Linked DNA regions of Homo sapiens: region 1 is linked to region 2. The links are contacts of gene promoters, found by promoter capture Hi-C in human tissues and cell types (Jung and others, 2019). All regions are on one chromosome and are shown on one strand. The core of a region is centred on a gene start or on the middle of the fragment in contact, and the rest is flanking DNA. Distances in the headings are between cores, read along the strand shown.

The links. Contacts are between HindIII fragments. The study calls those that stand out against the background at their distance.
Region 1: a contact is called between a fragment that was not itself captured here and the fragment with the promoter of SLC35G3 in region 2, in 1 of the 25 tissues and cell types used here (mesendoderm cells).

Annotation. Positions count from the first base shown.
Region 1 is chr17:35,510,296-35,515,999 of GRCh38, reverse strand. All of the region lies in intron 2 of SLFN12L (schlafen family member 12 like), which reads left to right. It also overlaps the pseudogene TOMM20P2. Among named protein-coding and RNA genes, the nearest start is that of SLFN12L, 25 kb to the left of the region's middle. The HindIII fragment of the contact is 5,418 bases long and covers 1-5,062 here.
Region 2 is chr17:35,190,830-35,196,430 of GRCh38, reverse strand. It overlaps SLC35G3 (solute carrier family 35 member G3), which reads left to right and starts at 2,038. Exons shown (of 1, transcript NM_152462.2): 1 at 2,038-3,911. The coding sequence starts at 2,124. The coding sequence ends at 3,140. It also overlaps the pseudogene SPICP2. The HindIII fragment of the contact is 5,493 bases long and covers 41-5,533 here.

The sequences.
Region 1 (5,704 bases), core at 1,104-3,603, 320 kb before region 2:
AAGAAATTAAGCCCAAAACATCCAATTCTTTAAATATGCTAACTCTTTAAGAAACACTGGCGGGGTGCGGTGGCTCACGCCTGTAATCTCAGCACTTTGGGAGGCAGAGGCGGGTAGATCACGAGGTCAGGAGTTCGAGACCAGCCTGGCCAACATAGTGAAACCCTGTCTCTTCTAAAAATACAAAAATTAGCCGGGTGTGGTGGTGGGCTCCTGTAATCCCAGTTACTCATGCGGCTGGGTCAGGAGAATCGCTTGAACCTGGGAGATGGAGGTTGCAGTGAGCCAAGATCGTGCCACTTCACTCCAGCCTGGGCAACAAAGAGCAAAACTCCATCTCAAAAAAAAAAAAAAAAAAAAAAAAAATTGCCGGGCGTGGTGGCCGCTCCTGCAATCCCAGCTACGCAGAAGGCTGAGGCGAAAGGATGGCTTGAGTCTGGGAGGCGCAGGTGGCAGTGAGTTGAGATCACGCCACTGCACTCCAACCTGGGGTGACAGAACGAGAATAGGTCTCAAAAACAAACAAGCAAAAAATCAAAACAAACAAATAAACTAAAACAAAAGAAACACTCTCCAGGCATAGAGAAAATAATATAAACTCAGTGGTAATCCTATACACATGACTCTCTCTCAAACTTGCACAAATATAGTAAATGAACTAACGATTTTAATCTTCAGAACCCTGGATCTTGCTTTCCAAGTGCCTGTCCCGCCGGCGTCGGGTCTGAGCGGCTCCCTGTGCTCGGATGGTTTGTGGGCAACCGCTCCTTTCCCCCACCGCCGCAGTCCACACTCAGCGTTCTGGGGAAGAGGCTGGGTCGGAACGGAGCCATCGCCGCTGGAGTATTCGGGGCCCTTTTCATCGGGTACTGCATCTACTTCGACCGCAAAAGACTGAAGTGACCCCAACTTAAAGAATAGGCGTCCAGAATAAAGAAAGAAACAGAAGCTGGCCGAGGAGTGAGTTGAGCTTTCCAAGTTAGCTGACCTTAAAGATGCTGAAGCTGTCCAGAAATTCTTCCTGGAAGAGATATAGCTTTGGTGAAGAGATCCTAGCTAAAGGTGTAGACCACCTGACAAATCCAAGTGCTGTGTGTGGACAGCCACAGTGGTTACTGCAAGTGTTACAACAAACTCTTCCACTACCAGTGATCCAGATGCTTCTGACAAAGCCCCTACCAGTTAATCAGAGACTTGTAAGTGCTGGCGCTTGGCCAAAGACGATGTGGAATGAGAAACAAATGTCAACATAATAAAATCTCAGTTAAAATACTTGAAAAAGTCTTAACTTGGTAGTTGAGCAGAAGGGCAAATATGCTTGTTATGAACTATTCTACATTGAAATCTACCAAAGTTAATGTTTACTTTGTGTAAATCCATTTGGTTCATTTATTTTTCCCAGTGAAAAGCATATTTTGATAGAGATCTTTTCATTTTTTAAGTACACTATGAGCTACTGAAATATCACAGATTTTGTTCATTTCTAAAACATGAGATTAAAATGTGCATATGGCCTTGCTTATGTTGAAAACACCCAGGGCTCAGTGTTGAAAGATAGGCAGAAAAGTGTAGGAGAAACTGAAGAATGCACATTTTTACGGCTAGTGCATTATGCTATAAATCAGAAAATTTGATAGAGACTTGATCGTGTTTGTGAAAACTGAGGATTAAAATTTTGAGGTGATGATTCCATTTAATCTCTTAGACATAAATCTGCGAGGTGTGCTGTTGTGCTGTGTTAACATTACCACCTTCCAGTGTGTCAGTCTTGAAATGTTTTGTTTAAATCAGTGAGCTTAATGTGTTCTAAGCAATTATCTCCTTGCATTTAAAATATAAGTAGTTGCAAACAGCACCAGGAATTAGATTTATGTATACCCCAATCAAGCTTTGTGAGCTCACTTTCCTCAATGTATTGAACGAGGGAGTCGGAGTCCATTTGCTGATCTGCAAAGTGTCCCTTTCAGCTTCTCGGTCATTTGGTTCTGTTTAGTATCTTCATATCCACCTTCATCTGAGGAACGTATGTTGGCAACCAGGCCTTGCCTTTTTTAATATTCTGAATTTCGCGTGCTTGCCTGACTTAGTATTTCCAAATTTATCTTTTTTCAATGATACAACTCTATTGTTGATTTTCACTGAAATTATGATTCTGTCACTACTCTGTAAATTAATCTGAAACTTAACTTTTAAGGTAACCGCGATGATCTACTTGTAAAAATGTTTGCTGCGTTTTGCTTTTATCTTCAATGTACCTCCTAAGTCCTACTTCAACCTGATTAATTTATCCTGTTAAACAATGAAAGTAAGGTGTGACCTTGTGACTGAAGACCTGAAAAGAATGGAGAGGGTGGGACCTCTTATTCTCAAATAGTGACATATTATCTGCAGTCACAGACTCAGTTTCAGAACGACAGTAAGGATACTTGGTGGCATCTGTTGGTACTTGGTGGCATCTGTTGGTACTTGGTGGCATCTGTCGAACTGAGCAGCATTTCTCATTGTACAGATAGCTTTCATTCTGCCTAAAAATCTGTGGGGAGATCCCAAAGACTTTTCCTATGTACTAGGCATTTCATTTTGGTTTACTTACAAACTCTTTTTAAGTGTCATTAACCTTGTTTTTTTTTATGGTATAGTGGAAAGAGAAATACAGTTCCAGTGTCTCCCTCTGGTCAGCTGCACAGCCTCGGGCAAGTCACAGTTCATCTCTGAACTTACCTGTAGTATATATAAGTGAACATTTGACTAGGTGACTCACACATTTGAGGATTTTCTCAGATACCTTGTGGGTTTGCCATCCTTATCCCTTAAACAGTACTTTTGATGATGAGGCACAATATCATTTTCAGGGGAGATGACCAGCACAAACATACCAGATAGTCAGTTTTACTAATAGGATCCCAAATCCACCCCAGTGCAGTGGTGACTGGTCAGTGACTGACCAGGCAGTGAAGAAACCTTTTGCACTAGCCCAGATATAGATAGAGGGACAGTCAAAGGGCAAATAGAGGAGGGAAAGGGAGCAAGGGGCAAACAGCTCAGCTGGGAAAGAACGGGCCCAGAGAAAGGGGGGTTGGCTGGAGGAGTGAGGGGGCAACTTAGGTTCGGAGAGGGTAGAAACACTATGTCCTTGAAAACTGTAGTGCAATATAAACTTGGTATCACTTGGCTCAAAATAATTGGCTTTGGTCTAATGCCTGAAAAGGCAGTGATATCGTCTTCATTTCACAGTTGATTAAGCCAAGTGCATTTTCTTATTTAAATGACAACTTCAGTGCTTTAAAATTACACACTACCTTTTAAAGCTAGCAGTGTTAAGTTAAAGAAAAAAGGCTGGGCACGGTGGCTCACGCCTGTAATCCTGGCACTTTGGGAGGCCGAGGCAGGCGGATCACAAGGTCAGGAGATCCAGGCCATCCTGGCTAACACAGTGAAACCCCGTCTGTACTAAAAATACAAAAAAATTAGCCGGACATGGTGGCGGGCGCCTGTGGTCCCAGCTACTCAGGAGGCTGAGGTAGGAGAATGGTGTGAACCCGGGAGGCGGAGCTTGCAGTGAGCTGAGACCACGCCACTGCACTCCAGCCTGGGCGACAGAGCGAGACTCCGTTTCAAAAAAAAAAAAAAAAAAAAAAAATCAGCTCTTTTTTAAATTCTCTCCCAGAAACACAATTGCCACTTTCTGTTCCCATCTTAAGTTTACCGGGTGATAGAACCAAGTCCCTGAGGTAGGAGAATGGTGTGAACCCGGGAGGCGGAGCTTGCAGTGAGCTGAGACCACGCCACTGCACTCCAGCCTGGGCGACAGAGCGAGACTCCGTCTCAAAAAAAAAAAAAAAAAAAAAATCAGCTCTTTTTTAAATTCTCTCCCAGAAACACAATTGCCACTTTCTGTTCCCATCTTAACTTTACCGGGTGATAGAACCAAGTCCCTGTGGTGATGCTGGCCAAATGCTGCTCAGCAGGTGAGAACAGAAAAACAAAACAAAACATAACAAAACCCAGATTTCAGTGGAATGATAAACAGCTTGAATGTTTCCATGTGCTAACGTTGTACACTTACAAAAAAAACTTTGGAAGTGGAAAATATGTATTAGTGCCATGTTGACAATGTATCTTTAGGCAAGGATACATTGTTTGTTTCCACAATTTGTACTTAAAGTGAAAGCACATGTAAAACATAGACTTAGCTGGCCCTGGAATTGCTGTTATGTTTTTTATTTATTTTATTTTGTTTCATTTTATTTAGAGATGAAGTCTTGCTTTGTTGCCCAGGCTGGAGTGCAGTGGCACAATCATAGCTCACTGCCACGTCAAATACTTGGGCTCAAGGGATCCTTCCACCTCAGCCTCCTGCTCCTGAGTAGCTAGGACTATAGGGGCTCTGTGTGTGTGTGTGTGTGTGTGTGTGTATGTGTGTGTGTGTAGAGACGAGGTCTCACCATCTTGCCCAGGCTGGTCTCTAACTCCTGGGCTTAAGGGATCCTCCTGCGTCAGCCTCCCAAAGTGATGCTTTTCTATTAACAGACAACTAGAACTTATGTCACACTTAATTTATGTAAAGTGTGTAAAACCTAGAATAGTGTACATAGTAAATATTTGATTCCTTTTACCCATGAGTAAGTTTATTTTACCATCTTCTTGCCTATCTTTCTGACCTTGTTGAAACAACCTGAGGACCAGAGTATTAATGAAATGTTATTGCAGAAGAGATTATGAGAAAATTGGTATATACTACAAATATCATACAAAATCTTGTAAGAAATGCAGTTTTATTATCGCTTCAATCTTAATTGTTTAAGTGACTATTAAAGGGATTGGAGAAAAAGAAAAGAACTCTGCATCTTAAAATGTTTTCTACTAGAAAAAAATTACAATTGAGAAATACAATCTTTAGTTAAATGTATACATTACAGTCAAAATAGAATAAGATAAACATGAAAATCAATGTAAAAACAAAAGAGTAGTAAAGTTTAAACAATATTGCATCTTTCTAATATACGCCATTTCTCTCTCTCAACAGTTTGAGTTAAAAAAATAGGAAAATCTGACTAGAACTATGGTCAGTGCTGATGAAGAAGCAAGACATTCAAAGTAACTTCAGGTCAGATATTAGTAGTAATTAAATAATTTAGGAATCCTTTCTCTTCTTTTTTTTTTTTTGCTGTGAATTCAGTTTTATTTGGCATAATTAACAGAGAAAATTTTATGCTTCCATAGGAGATTTTGGTTACTGTTTTCCTTTTTTTAAAACTGAGATATAATTGCATACTATATAATTAATTCTTTCAAAGTGTACAATTCAATAATTTTTAGTACATTCACAGAGTTGTGCAATGATCACCACTATCCACCTCACAAAGAAATGCAACATCCATTAGCGCTCACTCTCATTCTCCTTGTCCAGCCCCTGGCAACGTCTCCTCTCCTCTCTGTCTCTATGGACGTGCCTATCTGGATATTTCCTATAATAGGAATAACAGCGTGTGACCTTTTATGACTGGCTTCTTTCACGTAACATAAAGTTTTCAAGTTCATCCGTGTTGCAGCCTGCATCAGTGCTTCATTTCTTTTTATGGCCAAATAATATTTCACTGCATGCATACACTACATTTTATTTATTCATTCATCTCGATAGACATTTGGACTGTTTCCACTTTTTGGCTGTTGTGGATAATGCTTCCATGAATATTCATGTACA
Region 2 (5,601 bases), core at 789-3,288:
CCTCCCTAATAAGAAGAAAAAAAGGCAATTAAAAGATGGGTAACTCCTCCTTAGTATAGTGGTAAAATTTAAACATTAAAAAAGTTTTGGGACCAGTCTGGTCACTCACACCTGTAATCCCAGCACTTTCGAAGGCCAAGGTGGGCAGATTGCCTGAGCCCAGGAGTTCAAGACTAGCCTGGGCAACATAATAAAACACTGTCTCTACAAAAAAAAAAAAAAAATTAGCTGGGCTTGAGCCATGTTTGTGTCACTGCACTTGAGCCTGGGTGAGAGAGCGAGACCCTGTCTCAAAAAAAAAAAAAAAAAAAAAAGCTTTAAGTTGTAAAAAAAAGTGGGTAAGATCAAAAGAAGAGAAGGAAAGAAAACAATGTATAAGATACCTGAGCTCTCCCTCTCCCTCTCCCTCTCCCCACGGTCTCCGTTTCCCTGTCTTTCCACGGTCTCCCTCTGATGCGGAGCCGAAGCTGGACTGTACTGCTGCCATCTCGGCTCACTGCAACCTCCCTGCCTGATTCTCCTGCCTCAGCCTGCGATTGCAGGTGCGCACCGCCACGCCTGACTGGTTTTCGTATTTTTTTGGTGGAGACGGGGTTTCGCTGTGTTGGCCAGGCTGGTCTCCAGCTCCTAACCACGAGTGATCTGCCAACCTCGGCCTCCCGAGGTGCCGGGATTGCAGACGGAGTCTCATTCACTCAGTGCTCAATGTTGCCCAGGCTGGAGAGCAGTGGCGTGATCTCGGCTAGCTACAACCTCCACCTCCCAGCCGCCTGCCTTGGCCTCCCAAAGTGCCGAGATTGCAGCCTCTGCCCAGCCGCCACCCCGCCTGGGAAGTGAGGAGCGTCTCCGCCTGGCCGCCCATTGTCTGGGATGTGAGGAGCCCCTCTGCCCGGCTGCCCAGTCTGGGAAGTGAGGAGCGCCTCTTCCCGGCCGCCATCCCATCTAGGAAGTGAGGAGCGCCTCTTCCCGGCCGCCATCCCGTCTAGGAAGTGAGGAGCGTCTCTGCCCGGGGGCCCATCGTCTGAGATGTGGGGAGCGCCTCTGCCTGGCCGCGACCCCATCTGGGAGGTGAGGAGCGTCTCTGCCCGGCCGCCCCATCTGAGAAGTGAGGAGCCCCTCCGCCCCGCAGCTGCCCCATCTGAGAAGTGAGGAGCCCCTCCGCCCGGCAGCCGCCCCGTCTGAGAAGTGAGGAGCCCCTCCACCCGGCAGCCGCCCCGTCTGGGAAGTGAGGAGCTTCTCTGCCCGGCAGCCGCCCCGTCCAGGAGGGAGGTGGGGGGCAGCCCCCGCCGGGCAAGCTGCCCCGTCTGGGAGGGAGGTGGGGGGTCAGCCCCCGCCCGGCCGCTGCCCCGTCCGGGAGGTGGGGGGCACCGCTGCCCGGCCGCCCCTTCTGGGAAGTGAGGAGCCCCTCTGCCCGGCCACCACCCCGTCTGGGAGGTGTACCCAACAGCTCATTGAGAACGGGCCATGATGACGGTGGTGGTTTTGTGGAATAGAAAAGGGGGAAAGGTGGGGAAAAGATAGAGAAATCAGATTGTTGCTGTGTCTGTGTAGAAAGAAGTAGACATGGGAGACTTCATTTTGTTCTGTACTGGGAAGGGTTCTTCTGCCTTGGGATGCTGTTGATCTGTGACCTTGCCCCCAGCCCTGTGCTCTCTGGGGCATGTGCTGTGTCCACTCAGGGTTAAATGGATTAAGGGCGGTGCAAGATGTGCTTTGTTAAACAGATGCTTGAAGGCAGCATGCTCGTTAAGAGTCATCACCACTCCCTAATCTCAAGTACCCAGGGACACAAACACTGCAGAAGGCCGCAGGGTCCTCTGCCTAGGAAAACCAGAGACCTTTGTTCACTTGTTTATCTGCTGACCTTCCCTCCACTATTGTCCTATGACCCTGCCAAATCCCCCTCTGCGAGAAACACCCAAGAATGATCAATAAAAAAAAACAAAAAACAAAAAAAGAAAGAAAAGAAGCAGAGTTGGACTCAGTGGGAAAATAGGCGTGCTACCACCTCAGGAGAGTTCCAGGGAAGAATCCCACCCCCACTCCAATGAGGTCACAATGGCTGGAGCTCTGAGGGGCCCAGGCTCCCTGAGCCAGGAGGAGAGGAGAAAGTCCAAGGAAAGATGGCTGGCAGTCACCCCTATTTCAACCAGCCTGACTCCACACACCCATCGCCGCCCTCCGCTCCACCCAGCCTCCGCTGGTACCAGCGCTGCCAGCCCTCTGATGCCACCAGTGGCCTGCTGGTGGCCCTGCTGGGTGGGGGCCTGCCTGCTGGCTTCGTGGGCCCCCTTTCTCGTATGGCTTACCAGGCTTCCAACCTGCCCTCGCTGGAGCTGCTCATCTGGCGATGCCTCTTCCACCTCCCTATTGCCCTGCTACTTAAACTGCGTGGCGACCCCCTTCTGGGAACTCCTGACATCCGAAGCCGGGCCTTCTTCTGTGCCCTGCTCAACATCCTCAGCATTGGATGTGCCTACAGTGCGGTTCAGGTGGTGCCCGCTGGCAACGCTGCCACTGTTCGCAAAGGTTCTTCCACCGTCTGCTCCGCCGTCCTCACTCTCTGCCTTGAGAGCCAGGGTCTCAGTGGCTACGACTGGTGTGGACTGTTGGGCTGCATCCTAGGACTAATCATCATTGTGGGACCTGGACTCTGGACACTACAGGAGGGGACCACGGGTGTCTACACCGCCCTGGGCTATGTGGAGGCTTTCCTGGGAGGCCTGGCGCTGTCCCTGAGGCTTCTGGTCTATCGTTCTCTGCACTTTCCCCCCTGCCTCCCAACAGTGGCCTTCCTATCTGGCTTGGTGGGGCTGCTGGGCTCTGTGCCAGGCCTCTTTGTGCTGCAGGCCCCCGTGTTGCCCAGTGACCTCCTGAGTTGGAGTTGTGTGGGGGCAGTGGGGATCCTCGCCTTGGTCTCCTTCACATGTGTGGGCTATGCGGTCACCAAGGCCCACCCTGCCCTGGTGTGCGCTGTCCTACATTCCGAGGTGGTTGTGGCCCTTATACTGCAGTATTATATGCTCCATGAGACTGTGGCACCTTCTGACATCGTGGCGGCAGGGGTTGTGCTGGGCAGCATTGCCATCATTACAGCCCAGAACCTCAGCTGTGAGAGGACAGGGAGGGTGGAGGAGTGAGATAGAACTTGGGAGCCCGGGGGTTGGGAGGGACAGGGATAAATAAAGGCAAAGACTGAAGACAAACATGGGAGGAGAAGTGACTGGAAAAGAACTGGTGTGGGAGAGGGATACCTCTCAGAGTCAAGGGTGACTTGGGGACTTGGTGGAGAGGGACTACGTGGAAGACCTGGGGCCAGCCTGGGACCAAGGGATGTGGAGTCCAGGCTGGGTCCTAGAATCAGGGCATAACTAAGGGGTAAAGTCTGAGGAGCAGATCCAAAGGGCTGAGGCAGGGAGGCCGTGGGCCATGGGGAGGACTTCACTCAGCAGCAAAGAGAAGAGCATTGGGGCTGGAGTGTTCCGGCAAAGACAGAGCCAGCAGCTGCGCTGGGGGAGGGAAGCGTGCCTCCCCACCCCTCCCCTCACGGGGAAGGTTTCCTTTCCTCGTGCTTGTGCCCCCCGCTTGGGGTGGTGACGTGACATTGACATCAAACAAGGATTACAGTGAATGTGAAAAAAAAAAAAAAAGATACCTGAATAGACATTTCTATGACATTTTAAAAGCCATGAATTTATTTTGGCACAAATATTTTATCATATGCAGTCACTTCTTTGTAAATGATTTTTTGTAAAGTCATTGGATATAAAAGAGTGATTTTCCTCACCTGAGTACATGAAAAGAAAATGCTGAAATCAATGTATAAATCAAATCATCTGTACTAGCACTGTTAATCTAGAAGAAAGTGGTTGCATAGAGAAGAGTAAGAATGTAGACCAGCTTATTGAAGTAGGAAAAGAAAAAAAAAAGGAGCTTCAGAGGTAGGCTTTGCCTCTTAAAAAAATTAAAAACATAAGTCACTGTGTTGTGCTTGGGAGTTAGCAGCAAAAAAAAAAAAAAAAAATGAAGTCACTGTCTGTGAAAGGAAAAGAAAAAATGAAAAGAGTTTGCATCCATTGAAGTATGCAGAAAAAGAAAACAAGTTTTAAAATAAAATAAAATGAGTATAGTTGGGGGCTTAGCAATGGACATACAGAGTGGAGTAATAGACACCGGAGGCTCCAAAAGGTGGGCAGATGGGTGGGGGATGAGGGATGAAATCCTACCTATTGGGTACAATGTTCACTATTCTGATGATGAGGATGCTATGCAATATGCTTTACCACTACGCAATGTATCCATGCAACAAAACTGCACTTGTACTCCTAAATCCATAAAAATTTAAAATTGTCTTGGCTGAGACCTCTTTTAAAAAATAATAAAATAAAAAAATTAGAGAGAATAGTAAGAGCAGAGCAAGGACATTTAGTCTATAGTTTCAAATGGACTTAATCATTTGAAACAATAAAGTTTTTCATTGAATCTTCATAGAGTATTAAAAAAAAAGCTGCTCATTGGCAGAATTTCCCACTGAGTTAGTATAGATTACATGCTCTTTGATAAAAGCAGCAAATAAAGTTACTTGGTTTTTTTTCTCTTTAGTGTTTGCTTTAAGAGAAAAATCCTAAACTCCTTCAGAGGAAGGAAAAAAGAGACAGAGAGTGAGAAATCCTTAAAACTGTAGGGACTTCCAATGCCAGGAAACCATGAAATATGAGAGTATATTTAGCAATCATGGTGATTTAGCTCATGGTAATTGGCATATGTATAATTATAATTTGCATTCCAGTTATTTAAACTGAGATATTCCTGATCAGGTTTAACACACTTGGGGAAAGATCTCTTTCCCCAAGAAATAAGATGGAGAGAGTCTTTGGAGAGTGGCCTAACTGAACTGGTAAGTCAGCTTCCTCCGGATTTTGGTAATTTCCTCACTTCTTCCATAATTTCTCAGTGCCCTGGCCATTTTCTGATAAGTCATGGTCTTCCAACGGCCTTTTCTTTTCCGCCAAAGCTCGGCAAGTTTTCCTTTGTTTTTTGATACAAACGGAAAGATGCCTTTGATTTTATCTACCCACTGAATACAAGGTGCCATCTCCGGATTACACAGGGATTCGTGAAGGTATTCAAACAGTCTAAGCTTCTTCCTGCCTTTTCCCCACTTTTGCTGGAGAATAGTGGGTTGTACCAGCTGGTTTTCAGTTATGTTCTGCAGAGACTGATGAATGTTTCCTTCAAAATAGAAGTCCGCAGCACTGTTGATTACCGTTCTCCAATTACAGAGAGGTTCCTCTGTAGGCAACACTCCATAGCAGCTGGAATTTCCTTTGACGTGAGGACAATAATTGATTAAAGCCAGGTAATTTTTGTAATCTGGCGAGTACTAAAGATCTCCAGTTGAATGTTGCCTCAGTGCCTCAAAAGCATCCTCAAATGCTTGACCCAGCTTGTCTTGTTCAACACACGTCATGTTTCATTAATAAATTGACAATTTTGTTCCTTGGCAATTGTTGCAGGAAGACACTTCAACCCTTTATAGAGATATTTCATTAATATCAGAATTGTAAATTCAATGGTAGGCTGTCATGAAAATAAAAAATT